Linked DNA regions of Homo sapiens: all the other regions are linked to region 3. The links are contacts of gene promoters, found by promoter capture Hi-C in blood cells and fetal thymus (Javierre and others, 2016). All regions are on one chromosome and are shown on one strand. Each heading gives the region's core, a stretch centred on a gene start or on the middle of the fragment in contact. The rest is flanking DNA. Distances are from core to core; before and after follow the strand shown.

Region 1 (5,481 bases), core at 533-3,032, 1.8 Mb before region 3:
CATGGGCTATAGAGACTGTCTCCAAAAAAAAAAAAAAAAAAAAAAAAAAAGCGCAAATCAGGTTCTCAAATTCCTTAACTAAGGAAAAGAGCACAGAATTCTGGACAGATTCTGGATAAGGTACTAGTTATCAATCATGCTCACCTTTGCTTGTTTACCTTCCATAACTGCCACGCAGGAGTTGGTAGTACCCAAATCAATACCAACAACTGCTCCCTTGATTGCTTCTGATCTGTAAGACATTTAGAACAGTGTCACAGCTATTGTTATCTTGATAGACCAAAGTCACTGGAAGATAATATTTAATTGGAAAATTAACAGTGGTATACTACATAATCTCTAAATAAATACAGATAAATAATTACAGAGAAGAATAATCACAAATGTAGAAAACACTGCTTTGAAGTTTAATATGTATTCCCTCTCAAAGGAAATGATATTATACTTACGCATAATCCCGCCTTGAAACAAGTCTAAAAGCCTCATGACTAAGGCCATTCCAGCTATCCTAAAAAAGAAAAAACTGACTCAGTCACCAACCAGTGTGTATCCTGGGAGGAAAAAGAGAAAACTTGGGCTCACTTAGTATATAAAATACATTAAGCTACTAAAACAGTAAATATTAAAGTTTCCCAAATAAGTAAGACGAAAAAAGGTAAATAAAAGATGGCCTTAGAATCACATTACAGTAGGATTTCTCAACCGTGGCGCTATTAATTTTGGGCGAAATTTTTGTGGTGGGGGCTGTTCTGTGCATTGTAGGATATACAGCAGCATCCCTGGCCTCGACACCCTAGAAACCAATAAGCACCCCAGTAAGTAAGTGACAACCTAAAATATCCACAGACATTGCCAGATGTCCCCTGGGGGAAAACACTTCCCCTTACCTTGCCGTGCAATTAGTTTAAAAGAACTAGAGTTACTAAGGGTCTTTGAAAGAAAAAAGAAAAGTAGTGGCGTTTCACTAGGATAAAAGACCTTTATTACAACTTAACCTCAGGCTCCTTCCAAGCCTTCCTTAATGCCCACATACAATTCCTGTTCTCTAAAGCATTTGTCTTTTATTTTAGAAAACAAGTAACCACTCCATAGCCTTTTCTCCGCCCCACGATCTGCTTTTTTTTCTGAAGTAACAAACGAGTACAATCTTACACCACAGATTTTGAGAAAATGTTGCTAAGCACGAAAACTGGAGTTCCGACTCAGAGCTTTCTTATTTTATTTCACCGTATCAACGGGATCCTTACACACTCTGTATTCTGTAGAGGAGCCAAAAATAAAACTGAAAATAGTGGCTTTCCCAATAGACTGCATCCCTCACCCCCAAGGCCAAACCTTTCCATTCAGCCACAGAACAGGCCATGAGGACCACTACCTGGTAATTTTGAAATGACACTCTAGATCGCGAGGGGTGTGACTCAGCAGGGCCCAAGCCGGAGGCAAAACCTTGGGCAAAATCTTGACCCGGCAGCGCTAACTATGGAAGGCCCGTTACCTTCCTTCCCGCCTGACCTATACTGGAGAATTCAAACCCTAAAGGGCGCGCGGCCTGCCGCAGCGAAGCCCGAGGCCCAAGGCCCGAGGCCGTGACCCCATTCGGGAAGGTCCCAGTTCCTCACCTGGTGGCGGGCGGCCGTAGGGCCCCGGGAGGCTGCGGCGCCCACGAGACGGGCTGCTGCAGCTCGGCTGGCACTTATCATGGCGGATAAATGGAGGAGTACGAGGCAGCAAACAAGCGCTCCGACGGCAAAGAGCTGCGCGATGCGGTGGCGGCAGCGCTTCTGGAAACCTCCAACCACGTGGGGTGAGGGGCGGGGGTTGGTCACTGCGGCCCAGAGGCCCGCTCTTCCGCTGAGGCGCCGCCCGCGCCGCCTGACCAGAGGATACTCGACTGCCGCTCCCGGAGCCAGGGCGTACAGGTAATATGCTCCGCAGCATGATGGTTGGAGAAAGCCTGCCCTCCTGTCCCGGCTGCGGCGGCTCTGAGCTCAGAAAGAGTCCAGGGGAGGAAGAGGGATATGAAGGCCGTATCTCGGACAGCCCCGGTCCTCGGCGACAGGAAAGACTCAAGGTCACACGGGATAAATTGCGAACCGATTACAGTCTTCTTGCGTCAGTTGCGCGGGAGGAGGAGCCTGTTGGCGCAACAGACATCCAGCTAAGAACCTAGAGCGCATGTGCGCAAGGAGTGGCGGAAAACATGGGTGGAGACTAACTGCGGCGCTCACTGGGTGCCCGAGTGCACGCCAGCGTTCCCTGGGGCGAGCCCGGGCGCGTGCACACCCCCCGGGCGTGGACGTGTTCCCAGCTCCCGCTCCTGGAGGACGGCGCCATCTTGTCTTGTGGCTTTGTGAAGTGAGGACGTCAGTACTTTTGTTGTTTGGTCCCGCCCGTTGTTCACAACTTGAAAGACACTTGGATATGCAGACAGACGTTAAACAATTTCGTGTTGCGTTTTATCACAGGGGTCTTGGGTTTCCAACTACGAAGCGTTTGATTCACACAGAACATTAGGCCAATTAGCCTGCACAAAGGGAAAAAAAAATAGCTGAGCTTGGCCGGGCGCTCACGCCTGTAATCCCAGCACTTTTGGGAGGCCGAAGCGAGCGGATCGCGAGGTTAGGAGATCGAGACCATCCTGGCTAACACGGTGAAACCCCGTCTCTACTGAAAATACGAAAAAGTAGCCGGGCGTGGTGGCAGGCGCTTGTAGTCCCAGCTACTCGGGAGGCTGAGGCAGGAGAACGGCGTGAACCCGGGAGGCGGAGCTTGCAGTGGGCCGAGATCGCGCCACTGCACTCCAGCCTGGGCGACAGAGCGAGACTCCGTCTCAAGAAAAAAAAGAAAAATAGCTGAGCTTCAGGCTCTTCCTCTCCCCACTGTGCTGGGCCTGACTTGAGACTCCTCTGGCCCTTTTTAAACCTTGTGCTGGTGGCAGGATGTCAACTACTTCACTACCCTGTGACCAGTTTTTAGGTTTTTGTTTTTTTTTTTGAGGCAGTCTTTGTCGCCAGGCTTGAGTGCAGTGGCGCCATCTCGGCTCACTGCAACCTCTGACTCCCTGGTTCAAGCTATTCTCCTGCCTCAGCCTCCCAAGTAGATGGGATTACAGGCGCGCGCCACCACGCCCAGCTAATTTTTATATTTTTGGTAGACACCGGGTTTCACCATGTTGGCCAGGATGGTCTCGATCTCCTGACCTCGTGATCTGCCTGCCTCGGCCTCCCAAAGTGCTGGGATTACAGGCGTGAGCCACCGCGCCCAACCCAGTTTTAGATTTTTAAGAAGAGGAATTAATTGATTCAACAGATATGTTTTGGCATGCCTACCGTGTGTCAGTCACTCTCCCAGGTGGTAGGAATACAGCGAAAGCAAAACACGAACGAATGGCTGATGACAGATTGAACTTGATTTTGGAGATGAAGCAATTTGTCCTGGAAGCCCGCTTTCAAAAAAAGAGAAATGTTTCAGACCCCCTATCTCTTCAGGAAGATCTGTATTATTAAGTAGTCACCCCTGGGTGAGGAACTGTGAAGGAAATGTTGGGGAAAGTTGGGGAGGGAAAGAAGCTAACTGAAGAGTTTACATTCTGAGGAGGATGGCAGTGGGAGTAAGAAAATAAACAAAAGTCTAACGTAACATGGGTTATAGATTATATAGATTCTAAAAGTTTTTAAAAAGCCTCCCACACACTCTTAACTGTCAGCTATTACTATATTATCCTCACTAGTTACTTAACACTTCATTTCTCTTGTTTTTAGTTCTCTCAGAAGGCAGGGGTGGCCAGGCGGTGGCTCACGCCTGTAATCCCAGCACTTTGGGAGGCCGAGGTGGGAGGATCACTTGAACCCAGGAGTTCGAGATCAGCCTGAGCGACAGAGTGAGACTCCATCTTTAGCCTCTGTCGCCCAGGCTGCAGTGTAGTGGTGCAGTCTCAGCTTACTGCAGCCTCCACCTCTCTGGGCTCAGATGATTCCAGTGCCGCCTCAGCGCCCCCCTCCCCCGAGTAGCTGGGATTACAGACATGCGGCACTACGCCTGGCTAATTTTTGTATTTTTCGTAGAGACGGGGTTTCGCCTTGTTGCCCAGGCTGGTCTCCAACTCCTGAACTCAAGGGATCCGCCCGCCTCGGCATCCCAAATGCTGGAATTACAGGCGTGAGCCACTGCGGCCGGCCAATTTTTTTTTTTTTTTTTTTTAAATTGGCTGGGCATGGTAGCAAGCACCTGTAGTCCCACCTACTTGGGAGGCTGGAGTGGGAGGATCACTTGAGTTCAGGAATTTGAGAACAGCCTGGGCAACATGGCAAAACCCCATTTCTACAAAAAATTAGCCGGGCATGGTGGTGCACCTGTAGTCCCAGCTACCAGCTACTCGGGAGGCTGAGGTGGAAGAATCACCTGAGCCAAGAGAGGTCGAGGCTGCAGTGAGTCGTGATTATGATTGTGCCATTTCACTCCAGTCTGGGTGACACAGCGAGACATTAAAAAAAACAAAAAACAAAAAAACAGAAAGAAAGGAGAAAGGAAGGAAGGAGGGAGGGAAGGAGGGAAAGAAGGAAGGAGAAAAGGAAATAAGGAAAGGAAGGAAAGAGAAAGAGAGAAAAGAAAGATGCGGCCGGGCGTGGTGGCTCACGCCTGTAATCCCAGCACTTTGGGATGCTGAGGCGGGTGGATCACCTGATGTCAGGAGTCCGAGACCAGCCTGGCTAACATGGTGAAATCCTCGTCTCTACTAAAAATACGAAAATTAACCAGGCGTGGTAGTGGGCACCTGTAACCCCAGCTACTCGGGAGGCTGAGGCAGGAGAATTGCCTGAACCCAGGAGGCGGAGGTTGCAGTGAGTGGAGATTGCACCACTGCACTCCAGGTGACAGAGCCAGACTCCGCCCCCCCCCCCCCCCAAAAAAAAAAGAGAGAGAAAGGAAGAAAAATGAGAAGGCAGGCTTTCTTAAAGGCTATCCAAACAGGCTCATGATTCCTGTTTGTAGAGATTTAGATTCTAAAACAATATACCGATGCAAAGAAGACAGAGGAGTGACAAATAATATTGAACATTGAAATGCAATAAAAAACATTATGTTCTTACGTTGTACATGACGGGGCGGAGAAGGGCAGGTGGAAATAATTGGAGAAACTGCATACTTCTCACTTCTCTGTTGTATTAACTGGTTCTCCTAAGAGTTTTTCTTTTCTTCTTCTTTTTTTTTTTTTTTTTTTGTATTTTTAGTACAGATGGGGTTTCACCATATTGGCCAGGCTGGTCTCGAACTCCTGACCTCAAGAGATCCGCCTTCCTCGGCCTCCCAAAATACTGGGATTATGGGCGTGAGCCACCGCGCCGGCCGAGAGTTCGCTTTCCTTTTTCTTGCTCTATACGTTAAAAAGCCACGAAGTGTTAATCAAAAGAATCCTGGAATTAGGCCGGGCGCGGTGGCTTACGCCTGTAATCTCAGCACTTTGGGAGGCCGAGGCGGGTG
Region 2 (5,558 bases), core at 1,526-4,025, 1.2 Mb after region 3:
TGGGTTCCAGCCCCCATTTTCATAAGAGCAAAGATGAGAAGTCCAGAACAAAGGCCTCATGCTGTCCCTCACCCTAAAAACAACATCAAGGGCTGAGTAATTTCAGTTTACAGAATTGTGTGAAATAAGGGACCAAAATAGGTGGGTATAGATAGCACCTTAGCACAAAGGAAAAGAGGAAAATTTTTTCTGCAAAGGCTGTGACTCTCAACAAACAATAGTAGAAAAGAGAGACCCTTACACCTAGCTATGTGGTTAAAAAGTGGCCGTGCCAGGATCCGTATTTCTAGCTGCTGCAATCCTGACCTATTCAGCAGATTCTAAACCTTTTGCTAGTGGGAACTATAGTTTCCAAACTAGACATGGGGCCAATCTAGTCTCCACAGACCAGACTCTACGAGTGTCCTGCCAGCCTTGCCAAGAAGCCAGACCCTGCTAATTCCCTTCTATCACCTGTGCCCTTCCCTTGGGCAAGGGAATAGACTGCTTGCTGTGGCTGCTGAAAGTCAGAGTCACTGACCCATTTCAGAAGTGGGAGAAGAATATTAAGCAAGAACTTTCATCTGATCATTTGCATCTAAGTCAGTCTCAGGGAGTATCTCCAAAAAGGTCAAGGGAAGGACTAGCGATATTATAATCCTGAAGCCATAAAGGACTTTTCACCACATCCCCCCCGGCCCCAACACAGTATTATATTTTTTCTTTCTGTAAAAGTCCATGAAGTGCTGTTAATTCATTGAGTCTTACCAGGGAGAAAGCTGCTACTTAAGTAAAAAAAGTATTCGGGAAAAAAAAAGCTGATACTCTAGAATCACCATAGGGATGCAGCTATTACACAGTGGCCAAACACAGTTGTCCCAAAGCTTAAAAGCTCTCCTTTAATTCTTAGAACGGGTGAGGCCCACTTCTATGACCATGTTCTCCGTTGACGGCAGTGTGCAAACTTTTCTCAAGACTTTGGGTAACAGATTATCACGTCAGGAGAAAAGTAAGAGTCCAGCCCTTTCTCCCTCTGAAGGTGGCAGGGCATTGCTCCTTCACTTGGTCACCAATAGCCTCTGTGGGAAATCCTAAAGAAGAGGCTCTGCTCTGGCAAGAAGGGAAGTCTGGCTTTGTATCTTCTCAGTCCCAACCTGAGAGATCTTCTTTTTATTTATTTATTTATTTATTTTTTGAAATGGAGTCTCACTCTGTCACCCAGGCTTGAGTGCAGTGGTGCAATCTTGGCTCACCACAACCTCCGCCTCCCGGGTTCAAGCAATTCTCCTGCCTCAGCCTCCCGAGTAGCTGGAATTACAGGCATGCGCCACCAGGCGGCCCGGCTAATTTTTGTATTTTTAGTAGAGACGAGGTTTCGCCATATTGGCCAGGCTGGTCTCAAACTCCCAACCTCACGTGATCCGCCCGCCTCGGCCTCCCAAAGTGCTGGGATTACAGGCGTGAGTCACCGCGCCTGGCAGAGATCTTTTTAAAAGAAATTAAGTCTATAAATAAATTGCAAAATAAAAAATAAAAAAGAGCATAAGAGAGAACCTATAGAGACATCAACCAACTGCAATGTGTAGACTTTATTTGGCTCTGATTCAAATGAACTATTAAAAAAAACAACTATCATAAGATAATTTGGGAAATTTAATACTAACTGGCTATCTGATGATAAAGAATTTTTTAAATGTGATAATGGTAGTAATTATCTTCTTTTAAAAGTCCTAATTTTTTTGACACACATTCTGAACTGCTTAAGGATTAAATAATATGAACAAGGATACATGTAAAAATAATGGGTGGCAAAGACAAAGTTGATACAGGTATATGAAACAAGACTAGCTGTTGATTAAGTTTTTTAAATGGGTGATGGACATAGGGGTGTTCATACTAGTCTCTTTACATATATGTGTGTATGTGTGCGTGCATTTTTTTCACGGTTTCAAAAATAACATTTTTTAAAAAAATTCAGGACCATTTCCCTAGAGTCCTTGGGGCATTTGATTCTTCCCAGACAGCTAAGTGAAAGGGGTTCCTTTTTTTCTTCTTTTTTTGGGGGTATCTTTTCTTATCTGATCCTATAATTAAGAAAACTGCCCTAAACATCTCTGTAGCAAAAACACCTAAACCCAGGATTAGAGTCTAGATGAGGCAGAGGGGATGCCCTGGCCTGCTGCCTCAAAAGCTAGCACTCTGTCACTGTTAGTAGGTGTCCGGCAGCCAAACCATTTTGCTCTGTGCTCCGCTGGCAAGGACTTGCGGCATCGATTGCTCAGGATGCAGGCAGCCTGCAGCAAGGTGTGTCCCTGATGAGCAACTGCTGAGTAAAAGAGTACGTAGCTGCGCCTCAGCCAGTCTCCCTCCCTCTGCAAACCAGACTCCTCCTTTGCCTAACTCCTTTTTTTATTCCTGCGTCACAAATACAAAATGGAGTTAGCTGGGAGCAAAAACAATCTGTCTAAAATGGCTGAATGCGGTGGGGAGTGCCAGACAGTAAAGCGAAGGGAAAGGGCACCCCCTGGCGGCCAAGATAGGGAGTCTGTTTTATGTTCTTCACTACTTTTGCATTTCAAACGAATCAGTCCTACAGAGTCCAAGTTAATTTTGTCACAAATCTTGATGTTGAGCTCTAAAATTCAACTAATAGAAACTGAGGCACAAGAAGGGAAAATAATTTTCAGTCTCTAAAGACAAAGGGCACAAGTCAACAGCCCTGAGTTGCAGTTACTGCTTGGTTATGATCAGTAATAGTTTCTAGGAGACAACAGAACGGAAGGGAGGTCCTTTTATAGTACATGATTCCCCAGCTTCAATAATGGACTAATGACCCCCGGAATCCCACCGCTATAGCCTGCACTTCCCCAGGAATTCCTGTTTAAGGCGTCTCTCAATGAAGACCACAAACAGGAAATGGAGGAGTGGGGAGTTGCCTGACATCCTGGAAACTACGTTCTTAAAGAACTGCAGGTGGGAGTAAGTGGGATAGAAAAATGGGCTTTTCAAAAACTGTTGAGAACACGGACTGAGTCAGTTGTATCCGCACGGCTGGAAGACAGGCAGCTCCACCTAACCTCACTCACTTACTCAGGACCAAAACCCTACTTGCTCTGCCCAAGATAAAGCCTGCAGCATTTGTACCTATTCTACAGGGAACACCCTCCATTATCTTTATCTTACGCTACACCTCCCTTGAGTAAGCCAAGTACCTATGACTAAAAAAGAACATGTAAGAAAGGTGGAAAAAACAGAAATTATCTGGAAAAACTTGTGGGTACAAGTCATTAATGGTTGCCACTACTTAAATGAGGCTGCACAAATACGCCAGTTTATCCAACGTCCCTAAAGTGAGATAATGGCAACACATACAACACAGGTGCACAAAAATCACAAGTTGTTAAAAAAAAAAAAAAAAAGACTCTGGCATCACTATAGTTTTCTCTGAAGAAATAGGGTCTTTGTGGAAGAATCTTAGATCTCTCAGGCATATATGAAAGATCAGAACACTTAATAATCTCTCCAGGAAATAACTTTCTGTGAGGGTAACATAGCTATGGAATTGCCAAGTTCACCTAGCATACAATAAGCCATGTCTATTAAGCACTACATCAACTCTCTAATTCTGGGAAGAGGAGACAGTAAGAGGGTCTTAATGTTAATATAAGTGTTAATATAAGAAGCTGCCCAAATGGAGGACTTCTGATTTATATTCTTCATGGTTGTAATATACATAAGGGATAAATTCAGCACTTTAAAACAATCACTAAGGTATACATTATAGAAGGAAAAAATATCATGCCAACCGAATAGCAGTTATCCCTGCCCAAAGGTAACCGTATCACTGATACCTTGGCCAAAATATACAACTATCTGCAAAATCCCACAGAACTAGACCATTACAGATGTGCAAGCTGTAAGGAGGGACAGGGCAAACTGGCATTAATGAACAAACCTAAAGGACAAGAACAAAGCCACACAGAATCCCAAAGGAAGAACCAGATGCTGAGAGTTATAAAGAAGGGGACAGATATAAGTCTGGAAGGGTAGCAGAAAAGCAGTATTAAAAATCTGGGCACTTCACCAAGCATTTGGTCTTTCAGATAATATAGTCATTGAGTTTCCCACAGATACTTTCCCAGCACACCCAGGATGGTGACTCAATTAGGGAGTGCTAAAAAGAGGTCTGCTTCTAGGATGTGGGTGGGGAAGGACTGGAAGGACAGGCACTATCCCAAACAAGGACTCAGGTATGTCAGCAAAGAGGACAGGTTTATGCAAGGAAACAATAGGCTAGAGGGCAGAAGAAAAGGCATTAAAATAAGGTACTAGAAATAAAACTCTTTTCCTGGATTAAAAAATGTTTTATTATGGGAAAAATTAAACATTCAAAAACACAATTATTAATCCCCATGCATACATCACTCAGTTTCAACAGTTATCCACTCGTGACCAATTCTGTTTCATCTACACCCCACTTCTAAATCCCATAATGATCCGCAATTATTTCTGTACACATCTCTAAAAGATGATGACTTTTTAAAAAATGCCATGAAACCATTATCACACTAATTTCCAGCTGTCTCAACTGTCAAGTGTTTTGTATAGTTCATTTGGATCAAGATCTAAATAAGTTCCATATACTGTACTGGTTGATAAAATTTAAAATTCCCTCTTAATCTATATGTTCCTCTCCATCTCATTTTTTCCCCTGAAATTTATTTGTTGAAGAAATCAGGACACTAATCACTGGTAAAAATCAAGAAGCACTAGCACAGTTACTTTACACTGTCAGTCACTGGAAGCAAGCACCTGAGGTTTCTCTCAACATGCCTGCATTCTTGCCACTCCCTTTCACTAAGTGCTGGATTTGAGCCCAATATATCTAGGCTCAAATTCTGGCTTGGTGTTTACTTGCTATAAAATCTTAACAAGCAAAGGACATATTAATTCTCTTTTATATCTCTCAATTATAAAACAAAGATAATACCAATTAGGCATTATGGAAATAATGTTTTGATAATTGGAAATAATAGTTGATAATCCCCTGTCACAAATCTGACATTAAATAGGTATTCATAATTTAAGACTGAATGAGAAGGCAAAGTACCTTCATCTTTTTTTTAGGTGCTCCAGATCAGTTTTAATCTCTGCTGTATCTCACCCACGCTAACCTAAATAAATACTGAGTAAACTGCAGAATTCTAAACCATTCTCCATAACAAAGGATTCTAGAAATATTCTGTTTTATTCAGGGTTGGGAAGGGAAGTAACAGGGTAAGAGCAGAACAAAGAGAACAGATGGAATAAACTCCCAGCCCCCAGCCTGAGCCTGCAGAGACAGCTGCTGGTTTTCGTCATACTGCTGTTTTTTTCCCTTCTTTGTTCCTGAGGTGGAAGCCAGGAAAGGGTGGGGAAAGATGAGGGGGGGAAGGGGTGGAGATGGGAGGACCGCCATCTCTGTTACTGAAAGTCACCTGATCTTCTCCTCCAATCCCTAGTCTCTGACCTCACAATCTGGAACCTGAGCCAAAATAGCTCAACTGCGCGCACCCCGTGGCCGAAAAGAAAAATGCAAG
Region 3 (5,450 bases), core at 67-2,566:
GTTTGGGACTTTGCTAAGCGCTATATTATCATCTAATTTATTCATAACAACAACCCAATGAGGAAGGTACTAATATTACTCCCATTTCACAGAGGAGCGAGTTGAAAGTCACAAAAATGAAACAGCAAACGCGCCGAAGTCAGGCAGCAAGTAAGTGGCAGCACCAGAACTCGAAACTGCCTCGGAGCATGCACTCTTCACCACCCCGTTCCACCTTGAGGTCGGATTCCGCACGCCGTTCGCGGCATTCCCACCTTCCTACGTGGGACAGTTCCCGGTACTGAGGCATGGCGCTGTCCAGCCCTCAGGCCCGCAGCCGTCCGCAAGCAGGAGAACGCGGCCCCGCTGGGCGATCCTGCCCGAAGGCGCCCGAACTGCGGCGCGCGGCCGGGTCCTGGCGGGCGGGTCGAGTCTCCCCAAGGCGGCCATCCCAAGCAGCTCCCCGGATGTCCCTCAGACCCGCGCGCTAGGCTCAACTCAGAAAGGCGGGAGGCGCGAAGCGAGATCGGCCTTGCCCCTCGACTGTCCCCTCATCGCTCCCCGTCCTCTATTCCCTCCCAAATAGCCCCCGGCAAATAGGTTACACATCTTCACCTGTCCCAGAGGTGGTGACTGCTCTAGTGACTGACGCTACGCTCCTCCAACCAGGCAATGGCAGGAAGGTGGAGCCTTCCTAAGACTGATGGCTTCCTTTCTCCAATCCCGGTGCAGCTATTCTCCGGCCATAGTCTCGGCGCCCAGCGGAGAGCGACAGGTGGGAGCTGCGTTACTTCGGCGCCTCTTGCATCCTTGACGTAGAAGTTTCACCAAGCGCAGGGTGAAGTCTACTCCAAATTTGACCAATTCTTGCGGGTCATCACTTCAGCAGTCATTTTATTCAGAAGTGGAAATTTCCCGGCCCTTTCCCGTCACCTCAGATGAGGGCGGGATCAATGGTACTCCCACAGGCCAATTGTACCACGCGACGTCCCGCGACAAAGTGACCGACACTTTATGGCGCCAATGAATTCTCCCATTGTTCGGGGTCACTATGACTGACCACAAGGCCAACTAATCCACTTTAAGGTCGTGACGCGATAGTCAGGCGGGTTGGCCAATAGACATAGGAAAAGAGCGGAAGTCAGCTGGTGAAGAGTGGGAGGCGGGTGTTCGCAACCGCCTAGGCCTGCGCGGGTCAACGCAGCTTGGCGGCTGCGAGCCAGCGAGCGGCGCGTGACGAAGAGCCTGAGCGACGGGTCACTTTGGCCAATGATCTGCAGCCGCCAGGGTATTGCAGCCAGTGGCGAGTCGAGGGGGCGGGAGGCAGCAGGTTAGGCAGTGAGAAGTTAGTGGCGCTGCTGGGACGGGGGAAAGGAGACGCTTCTTCCTCTTGCTGCTCTTCTCGTTCCCGAGATCAGCGGCGGCGGTGACCGCGAGTGGGTCGGCACCGTCTCCGGCTCCGGGTGCGAACAATGCTGACTGATAGCGGAGGCGGCGGCACCTCCTTTGAGGAGGACCTGGACTCTGTGGCTCCGCGATCCGCCCCAGCTGGGGCCTCGGAGCCGCCTCCGCCGGGAGGGGTCGGTCTGGGGATCCGCACCGTGAGGCTCTTTGGGGAGGCCGGGCCAGCGTCGGGAGTCGGCAGCAGCGGCGGCGGCGGCAGCGGCAGCGGTACGGGCGGAGGGGACGCGGCGCTGGATTTCAAGTTGGCGGCTGCCGTGCTGAGGACCGGGGGTGGAGGTGGTGCCTCTGGCAGTGACGAGGACGAAGTGTCCGAGGTAAGGCTCCGGGACCCTCGCCTCCCACACATTGTGAGGCGTGAATTCTCTTTGGGTAGGCTCTGGGCCGGGGCCATCCTCCCGCTTCCCTGGTGGAGCCCTTCTGTGACAGCGGTCGGCTCCATGGCGGCGGTGGCCGCGGTGAGGGCCTAGTGAGCCCTCGGCTTACTCTTTAGCTCGAGCGGGACAGGTTCCCGTCACCATTCGTAGACCCACAATAGGGAGTCCTTTGGTCTCTGAGCTTCGCGCGGGAACAGGGACTCCTCAGGCTGCCTCCCGCCCACCCTGCTTTGGAGTTGGGGGTGGGGGGCGGGGTCTTGCCAGAGTCCCTGCCCTTGGTACTGAGAGAGACAAACAGAGACAGAGACAGAGCTGGTGCAAAGATCGTTTCTCTTCTTTGCCTCTCCTCAGAGTTGAGGGATACGTTTATTTGCCTTCTGCCTTGTGTGTGTCTTACCTGTGTGCTTAAGGACGGTTCTTATTCTCCCTCTTCAGTTTGAGACAGGTTTGAGTATTAGGGATCTCTCGGCTTTTACCCTGAAAAATCACGTGACTCCTCCTTCTGGGACCTTTTGTGAAGTTAGACAGGAAAAGGAAGTTCCAGGGCATCCCTGAGCTTCGGAATAGCTGGGTAGCTGAACTCGGAGGTTTTAGGCTTGGAGAAAGTGGGGCAACCTGTGGAAACCTCTTCTTTTTTTTTTTTTTTTTTTTTTTTTTGAGATGGAGTTTCGCTCTTGTTGTCCACGCTAGAATACACGTGATCTCAGCTCACTGCAACCTCCGCCTCCCGGGTTCAAGCGATTCTCCTGCCTCAGCCTCCCGAGTAGCTGGGATTACAGGCGTGCGCCACCACGCCCGACTAATTTTGTATTTTTATTAGATACGGGGTTTCACCATGTTGGTCAGGCTGGTCTCGAACTCCTGACCTCAGGTGATCCGCCCGCCTCGGCCTCCCAAAGTGCTGGGATTACAGGTATGAGCCACCGTGCCCGGCTGGACACCTTCACTCTGCCTTTGCAGTGAAGTCCTTCATTTCTTTAACTCTTCTGTGTGTACTCTAATGTGTACACATTTTTAGGTCTGAGCAACCTGGGATGGTAGGCATTAACTTCTTTTGGGTTCTGGGGAAAAAGGGGCGGGTTTTGTTTTTGTTTTTTGAGATGGAGTTTCGCTCTGTCGCCAGGCTGGAGTGCAGTGGCGCGATCTCGGCACACTGCAACCTCCGCCTCCTGGGTTCAAGCGATTCCCCTGCCTTAGCCTCCTGAGTAGCTGGGACTACAGGCGCGTGCCACCACTCCCGGCTAATATTTTGTATTTTTTAGTAAAGACAGGGTTTCACCATGTCCAGGATGGTCTCGATCTCCTGACCTTGTGATCCCAAGGGGCGGTATTTTATGTGTATACTTTTTTCTGTTGACTGTGGCTTGCGTAGAGTACTGTACCGTGATTGTTTTAAGTGCTCAGAGTATTTCTTCTATTTTGGTTCTGAGGTGCCTGAGTTGTCACCTGTGACCAGTTATTTTAACCTCTGGTCTTGGTGTTAAAGTACAGGAATTTCTCTGTGTGTACTAACAATCCCGGCTCTTGGATTTGAGAGGAATAAGGAGAAATTATTTGTGGGTTACAGACTGCAGTTAGTATACTGTCTTATCATTCTAGGTCTGAACAGGGTTTTATTTAATATTTAAAACCTTAGTACATTCTGACCCTAACATTTTGCTTTGGAAAAAAAAGTGTGTGGGTTATAAGGCGGGTAGTCCCTTGAATGTCTACGTCTTTGAATTTCACGGTAAGGGAAATAACTTCTAAGCCAAGGTGAGAGAAATGTTTTATTTGAGTAGGCAGTTATGGGGAGAGACTCTGGAGTATCCCTGCTCTTGGTCTTGTGGAAGGCTTTATTTTATCCTTTCAGTGAAACGTGAGAGATTAAGCTAGAACACAGTACTTTTTAGCTAGGAAATGAAGTGTGGGGGATATCCTTAGACTAAAGATTAGAGCTTATTTTCTATGAAACTTGTAAATGAGAATCTGAAAGAGTTTGCTTTGGTCTAAATGTGATAGAAAAAGGGGACCTTGATTTTCTTGACCATTTTTACATAATTGTCATGGGTGAGATGAAAGGTCACTCATTTGCCTTTTTTTTTAATTTTAATTTTTTGTTTTTTTTGTTTTTTTTGAGACTGTGTCTTGCTCTTGTCACCCAGGCTGGAGTGCGGTGGCTCGATCTTGGCTCACTGCAACCCCCGTCTCCCAGGTTCAAGCTATTTTCCTGCCTCAGCCTCCCTAGTAACTGGGATTCCAGGTGCCTGCTACCACGACTGGCTAATTTTTTTGTATTTTTAGTAGAGACGAGGTTTTACCATGTTGGCCAGGTGGGTCTCAAACTCCTGACCTCAGGTGATCGCCCTCTCAGAGTGCTGGGATTACAGGCATGAGCCACCACGCCCGGCCTTAATTTTTTTTTTTTTTTTGAGACAGGTTTTGCTATGTTGTCCAGGCTAGCCTCAAACTCCTGGGCTCGGGTGGTCCTCCTACCTCAGCCTCCTAAGTAGCTGGGACTATAGGCACACGCTACTGTGCCTGGCAACCATTTGCTTTTTTATAAGTAATAGTCTTAAATTTCTTCACAGGTAGAGCACTAGTTTGCCCCCAAAGTCATAAATTTGTCTCTCTCTCTTTCTGACTGTGCATGTCTGTGTGTGTGTGTGTGTGTGTGTGTGTGTGTGTGTGTGTGTGTGTGTATGTGTAATGGTCTTTGGAGTCTCCATACCATGTAATTAAAGCTATGGGCAGAATCCATGCCTTTTGTATTTTTGAAGCTTATTGTAGAAGTCATGTGTTGGTGATTCCTACACCCACTTAGTGGTGCCTAATGTTAGAAGAGCCCCATATTCTCCTGTTTACTTATGTTTTCTGTGCCTAAAAGGATTTACAGGTTAAGAGTACATGTAGACCTCATTTTTGGAATGGAAGTTTCTAGGATACCCACTTTAGCCTAATCTAAGATGATGCTTAGTGGGTGTATAGATGCTTTCTTAATCTGTGTAAGCAGGAAATTTTTTTTGGGTCCTGTTTCTCCCATATCACATAGAGAGGAAATTCTTGGAGTATCTAGTCTTTATAGTATGTGTGGTAGAGTATAGTCTGTGCCTTTGTGAATAAAATGACCTGTTTTGGCCAAGCAAAAATTTTCCCTTTTCTTTTTCTGTCTGACAAGATGAGCTGTCTTCTTTTATTATTATTGCCTTTGAATTTTCAGTGTGAAAAGGTAACAGTGTTCTTCAAAAAATACTCATGTAATTGGCATTTGATGAATAATACTAAAATCCTCCGTCTCATCTTTCCTAAATATTTTGTTTATTTTTATTTATTTTTTTGAGACAGGGTCTCATTCTGTCACCCAGGCTGGAGTGCAGTGGCACGATCTTGGCTCACTGCAACCTCCGCCTCCTGGGTTCAAGCGATTCTTCTGTCTCACCCTCCTGAGTAGCTGGGATTACAGATATCCACCACCACTCCCAGGTAATTTTTATATTTTTGGTAGAGACAGCGTTTTGTCACGTTGGCCAGGCTGGTCTCAAACTTCTGGCCTCAAGTGATTCTCCCACCTTGGTCTCCCAAAGTGTTGGGATTACAGGTGTGAGCCACCATGCCTGGCCTTCATTTTTCCTAAATATTTATAACCACCGGGCA
Region 4 (5,675 bases), core at 1,069-3,568, 1.2 Mb after region 3:
AGGGTTAAGCAGCACTACTTTCCTAGAAACCTTCCAATTCCGTAGCTACTAATGCAATTTTCCTCATTACCTGAGCTATTTAGTTTTAAAAATTCAGCAGATTAAGGGTTAAGACTAACACCGCAGAAAGAAAAGAGAACTTGGTTCAGCTCCATCCTCTCTAAAGCAAATACCTACAACCCTGAGCCAAATCCATTAAACATATAGAAGACTTCATGGACATTCCAAAAGACAGGTGAAAAGGGGTTGAGCTTCCTCAGGTTTCTCACCTTACAGTACCACACACATAGTAGACTTCACAAGTTCGTGAAATAATTGTTAGATAAAATAGAGTACATATAAAATTCTACTCAAGACATGAAAACAAGTCACTGAGGTCACCACAAGTCAGCAGCAATAGCTGGAATTTGGGTGAGGAAGGTCAAACAGTACTCATGGAAATAAAATCAAAACAAAAAGATACAGAAATAGAAGGAATATGAGCCCTAGAACTTAAGTTTTGGAAGGAAAGCTAACGGGGGGGAGGGGTCAATTCTTATCCTAAAGAAACATACAAAAATGCTGCTTTAGTCACCAAAGAAGGAGGGGGTGTCAATACCCTTAACCTTATATTTCTAGGGGGGGAAAAAAAGATGTTCACCAGATAAAAACAGATGGTTACTGACATCTCAGATATCACTGGAAAGGGCAGTCCAGGAGCACTTGGTCTTGCTAGAAATAGGAAGAGATGAGTCACTATTTTAATTCTATTTAGAATTAAACATCTAACCCTCCAGGGTTAACATCTCAACCCTCTAGGTCATAAAACAACATTTTCTTCCTGTTTCCATCGCTTTATCAGTTTTCTTCCCAAATTTGTGGAGCTGGGTCAAAATGTTGGGAGGTGGGACTAAGAGTTACAAGCCATTTGTTTAGTAGAAAGATACACTAGTGTAAGGGCATAAATACCTGGAAGAGAAGACAAAAGAGCTACAGTTATAACTAGCTATTATAATGATCATCAATATCCAAGACTTTTCCTCTCCTGGACAGTGCCCCGTATCTTACAAAGCTTTTATAGCAAAAAAGCAACCAAACGGCTCCCTGGAGAGAGGCGTTGGTGTGGGCAAAAGGTAATGAAATATGATAGGGTTACATGTATATCACTATTCCTTCACTCGGATTGAAAGTAACTGGCACTTGAGGAAAGCTTACTCTTCTACAGGCACGCAAAGGGAAGCCGATAGTCGCCTTGGGGCACAAGAGGCAGTAGAAAAGGAGTAGAGGAGACGGTTATCATGGGAAATGTATAAAAAACAATTCAATTACAAACTTCTTGAACTCGCAGTCCAACTTTCTTCCCACAGGAGAGGTTTATCACCATCCTAGGTCAAGAAGGGCACAATCATGAGAGTTCTAATCCTCTGAAAAGTGATAAGCAACAGGGCAAAGAGAGAGGTTCTCTGGAGAGAGGAATACTGGTAAACAAATAAACGTCATGCCCCAGTGACCATAGGACCTGGGCAGGAGCCCATTCCTGTAATCGCAAGGACAAACGTCCAAAGAAGGAGTTGGGGGTAGGGCTCAAGTCAGGTAACATTCCTCAGGGGAAGGATTATCAAGTGACACCGGGCGGAGGGCCCACGGGGGACTGGGCGGGAGGAAAGTTAGCAGGTAAAAAGGATGAATCATGGAGAAGGAAGTGACCTTTAGGAGAAGGAAATACGAGAATACCAAAAAAGGTGTAAGGTTAAGAAGAGAAAATGGACCCAGAAGAGGGGACCAAAAAAGAGGAGGCGTGTTCGGGTACTGGAGGAAGAAGAAAGGAAGTGAGGCTGAGAGGGGAGAGACGGGGCTGAGAGCCGGCCGGGGATATGCGGGCGGGAGGGCAGAATGTAAGGGCTGGGGAACGAGGGAAGCCCCGAGGTGGCCGGGGCAAGAGCCGGGTGGGATTCCGGGGCTTCCCGAGGTCCCGAAGGGAGAGGATGTCGGGCTGCAGAGCTGCGGACCGAGCGAAACGAGGAAGGAAGGCGCGGGGGCGGCTCCCCAAAGCCGGGCAGGCGCCCCAGGGGCCGGCTGCAGGGGTCCAGAGGGCGGTTACGGGGCCAGGCAGGAGCGGGATGGGAGGGACACTCACAAATTTCTTAGATTTGCCGCCGTCGCCGCCCGCCGAGGGCAGCTCATCTGGGCTCCGGCCCTTCTTCTTGTCCCGGGTCCCGCGGCCGGGCCCCAGGCTCCCGCCGGGCGGCTCCATGTCCCGGTTCACGCTGGCCGGCGACCCCGCGCCTACGCCGCTCCCGCCTGGCAGCTCCGCGCCCGCCGCCGCCCAGTCGCTCTTTAGCCAGCCGCCGCGCCCCGCCTCATTAGCATGCCGGGCTGCGCGCGCCTCATGAATATACAACGACGACGCCTCGCTCCCGCCCGCCTGCCCCACTTCCGCCCGGACCCGCAGCCCCTACCAATGGGGGAAGGGAGAGGGGCGGAGGGAAGCCGCGGAAGCGCGCTACCTGCCCAGCGGACCTAACCATTCGGACCCACGTGGGGGGGGGTGGTGAGTGGGCGGTGCAGCTCTCCGCGGCCGCGGCGGAGAGCACCGCCCCCTGGCGGTTGGAGCAGCGCAGGCCTCTGGCTCCCACGCAGCGCCCACGTGGCTGTACAGCCTGACAGCCTGGACCCTCTCACATCCCAGACCAAAAATCGCGTGAGACCATTATCCTGGCAGAAAATTAGTGACAGGTTTTCCAAGAGAATGCAGTTTTCAATGTGTGCAATACCCATGGAACACATGAAAAAAATTATAGTGATAGCCACCATGTTTTGAAAGCAAGGTAGCAAGAACAGAGCTCGGTCCAGGGCAAGCACTAGACTAAACCAGACTCGCTCTGGAGTTTAATTTCCTAGTTCGAATTCCAGGTTAGGTACCATCTAATTGTTTCTAATCAGGACAAACTAATTATTGCCAACATGTGCCTAAACAGCAATAACAGTTACCACTTAACCATGCCCTTTGCTCTCTGCTAGGCACTAGGCAAACACTCTACATGTATTTTTCTAAGTCCCCACAGTCCCATGTGATAGATTCTGCTAGCCTCACCATTTTATAAATAGTAAATTTGGACTTTTGAGAGTTGAAGTGACTTGCCCAAGAACGCATAATTGATATAAAATTTAAACCCAGCTTAGTCTGATTTGCTGCCAAACCCTATGTTTAACCAGGATTCCCCACTGACATAAACCAAACATGAGTGAAAAGAATGAGTATTCTCCAAGAGTATATTCTTTGCTCTTCTAGCATGACTTTCTCCCTAAGCAATTTCATCCATTCTCCCAGCTACATCTGTCCCTTGTGTGACAGTTACGTGGCTACCAGTCGGCCTTCACAATATGGACTGAATATTCTTGACCACAGCTAGCAAGATTTCAAGCATAAGTTCCTGAAGGGCAGAGTCAGTGACTTACTTACTCTAGAGCCCCAGTACCTAGTCAAGGGCCTGAGATATACCAGGGACTCTGCCAAGCTGGCTGGCTCCTAAATTTGGCATTCATCTCTCTTGTGGTCCAGACCTTCTGATGGTGATCGGATAGAATGTTACATAGAGCTGTCCATCCCATACTTCAAACTTGACTTAGTGCTGAGCTTTCCAGACATTTTGTCTAAAAAGTCCAAAAGCTACTTTCTAAGCTAGTGTTGAGAACAGACAGAATCAGAGAATGGAGGGGAGGAAGTGACCCATCTATCAGTCCTCTTTCTTGTATCAGTCTGTATCTGCTACAATATTTATCATACTACTGACTGGAATGTAAACTCTTCTAGAGAAAGGTTCATGTTTGTGGCTACTACAGTATTTAGCATTGTTCTTCACATAGACAGATAATGGGCAACTTCTTCTGTCAGGCACTGTGCTAAGCACTTAACATGTTTTATCTCAGTGTATCTTCACCAACTAGCATCACTACTCTAAACACCCAGATTCAAAAACCTGAAGTCATCTTCTACTCCTCTCAAATCTGCCCAGGTTTGTCTAACTCTTAACCAAAATCCTCTATTAACTTCTTATATTTACAATAATAAATGTAGAATACATACACAGGGCCTAACGTAGGATAAGTGCTGAATGAATGTTAACTATGCTTTTATTACATGCATCATCATGCCCATTTCCCTCTCCTTTCATAAATAGGAAACTAGCAAGAATTAACATTCCTAGAAAGGCGAAAGGTACAAAAAATACCGACTTAGTTTATTGGATAAAAACAGTGGTAAAATGGACATAAAGCCAAAAGTGAGAACAGAACATTTTCATATCCTCCCCACACTTGAAAACATACTTCCCATCATCTGGGATTCAGGTGTTAGGGAGCCAGAGCCCCTTCCAAATCTCTCTCTCTTCATCTTCCCTGGAAGCAAGGGGAGGAAGAAGTCAGAACCCAGGGGAGGAGGAAGTCAGAGGCAATCTCAGTCCTTGTCTACCCGTTCATCCCTCAAAAATCTCTGGGTTCGAGGGAAGCAGGGAAGAAATAAGGGGCAAGGGGGGCTAGGGACTGGCCTCCAGGGCCCACTGCCAATAATGTCCCAGATAGCTATCCTTGTCTGTATCTCATCCCTAATAGGTACCATTGTCAGGCCTTGGGAGAGAGAGGAAAAGCAGGTAGATGGTTCGAGAACCAAATGTGGTCTCCAGACTCTTTCCCAGAGTCAGCAAAAGCCCTGGGGTGACCCCCAGGACTCTAGGAGCCACTCCTTTTCCCTCCAGCCCAACCAAGAGGTGAAAAGAAATTCCTTGGGACACAGCATCCCAAGCCACTCTTAAATCTCCACATCGCTTTCCTTGTCATTGTCATGGTCTCCATCATAGAACTCATTGGGTGCCTCTGGCCTGCAAAGCAAGGGGAGAGAGGTCAGGATCTCACTCTAAGTTCTAATCTTCTCCCAGCACCCTTTTCCAAAGCCATTTCTCAGGCCCCGTTGAGAACCACTCCTCCTCTTGTTGGTAGAGACTGCTATTCATTCACCCATTCACGTATCAAATAAACATTAAGGAACTACTCTATACAGACACTGTCATAAACCTTAGCAATACAGTAGAGTAACAAGCTGGACAAGGTTGTCTATCCTCAAAAAGCTTACCTAATAAATGAGACTAGTAACTAACAAAGTAAATAAATATAATAATTTCAGATGATGGAGAGTACAATTAATAAAATGAAGTGATAGGACTGAAGGTGATGAGAGGAAAAGGGTGAAATTTCAGACAGGACTATTGGGACATAAGACCTAAAGTCTGAGGAGGAGCTAAGCAGGCAAAGACTTCAGGAAGGCCATTCCAAGCTGCAAGAAAACCAACTACAGAGGTCATGAAATGGAAAGAGACTGATGTATTCCAGTAAGAACAAGGAGGCCAGGACAGCCGGGAGCACTGTGCATGGAGGAGAGTAGTTAGAGATGAGATCCTGGATGTAGGTAAGGGCTAGCATGCAGGACCTTTTTAAGCCACAGTCAAAATTTTGGATTTTCTTCTAAGTGCAAGGTAAAGGAGAGTTTTAATTTTAAGAAGAGTGACGTGGTATTATAAACCCATAGTGAAAGAATGGATGTGAAAGCAAAACAGGGCCCAACAGGTACTCAATATTGGTTTCTTTCTTTTTGAAAAAGTATTCTCAAAAGCCGGGCGTGGTAGCTCACACCTGTAATCCCA

Evidence for each region. The method cuts DNA at HindIII sites, captures the fragments that hold promoters and counts their contacts. A CHiCAGO score of 5 or more calls a contact.
Region 1: the fragment with the promoter of HSPA9 here is called in contact with the fragment with the promoter of ANKHD1 in region 3 in 1 of 17 cell types (total B cells); the score reaches 7.1 in total B cells.
Region 2: a contact is called between the fragment with the promoter of DIAPH1-AS1 here and the fragment with the promoter of ANKHD1 in region 3, in 3 of 17 cell types (neutrophils, M0 macrophages and total CD4 T cells). The highest score is 11.5, in neutrophils.
Region 4: the fragment with the promoter of DIAPH1 here is called in contact with the fragment with the promoter of ANKHD1 in region 3 in 1 of 17 cell types (fetal thymus); the score reaches 5.9 in fetal thymus.

The regions. Positions count from the first base shown.
Region 1 is chr5:138,573,619-138,579,099 of GRCh38, forward strand. It overlaps HSPA9 (heat shock protein family A (Hsp70) member 9), which reads right to left and starts at 1,783. Exons shown (of 17, transcript NM_004134.7): 1 at 1,620-1,783; 2 at 450-508; 3 at 145-232. The coding sequence starts at 1,700. All of the region lies in intron 1 of LOC105379193 (a long non-coding RNA gene), which reads left to right. RefSeq lists enhancers at 1,364-2,011, 1,528-1,577, 1,818-2,097, 2,012-2,660, 2,238-2,377. The HindIII fragment of the contact is 10,827 bases long and covers 1-5,481 here.
Region 2 is chr5:141,555,536-141,561,093 of GRCh38, forward strand. It overlaps DIAPH1-AS1 (DIAPH1 antisense RNA 1), which reads left to right and starts at 2,776. Exons shown (of 3, transcript NR_038333.1): 1 at 2,776-2,952. The region is part of intron 18 of DIAPH1 (diaphanous related formin 1); the gene reads right to left. RefSeq lists enhancers at 1,754-2,606, 2,367-2,661. The HindIII fragment of the contact is 6,603 bases long and covers 862-5,558 here.
Region 3 is chr5:140,400,517-140,405,966 of GRCh38, forward strand. ANKHD1 (ankyrin repeat and KH domain containing 1) reads left to right here and starts at 1,317. Exons shown (of 34, transcript NM_017747.3): 1 at 1,317-1,757. The coding sequence starts at 1,452. ANKHD1-EIF4EBP3 (ANKHD1-EIF4EBP3 readthrough) reads left to right here and starts at 1,317. Exons shown (of 36, transcript NM_020690.6): 1 at 1,317-1,757. The coding sequence starts at 1,452. ANKHD1-DT (ANKHD1 divergent transcript) reads right to left here and starts at 885. Exons shown (of 2, transcript NR_186045.1): 1 at 595-885. RefSeq lists enhancers at 1-60, 151-300, 391-440, 631-1,520. The HindIII fragment of the contact is 10,874 bases long and covers 1-4,574 here.
Region 4 is chr5:141,616,682-141,622,356 of GRCh38, forward strand. It overlaps DIAPH1 (diaphanous related formin 1), which reads right to left and starts at 2,319. Exons shown (of 28, transcript NM_005219.5): 1 at 2,117-2,319. The coding sequence starts at 2,233. It overlaps HDAC3 (histone deacetylase 3), which reads right to left. Exons shown (of 15, transcript NM_003883.4): 15 at 4,200-4,856. The coding sequence ends at 4,787. RefSeq lists silencers at 1,897-2,093, 1,904-1,953, 2,014-2,673. The HindIII fragment of the contact is 3,913 bases long and covers 1,188-5,100 here.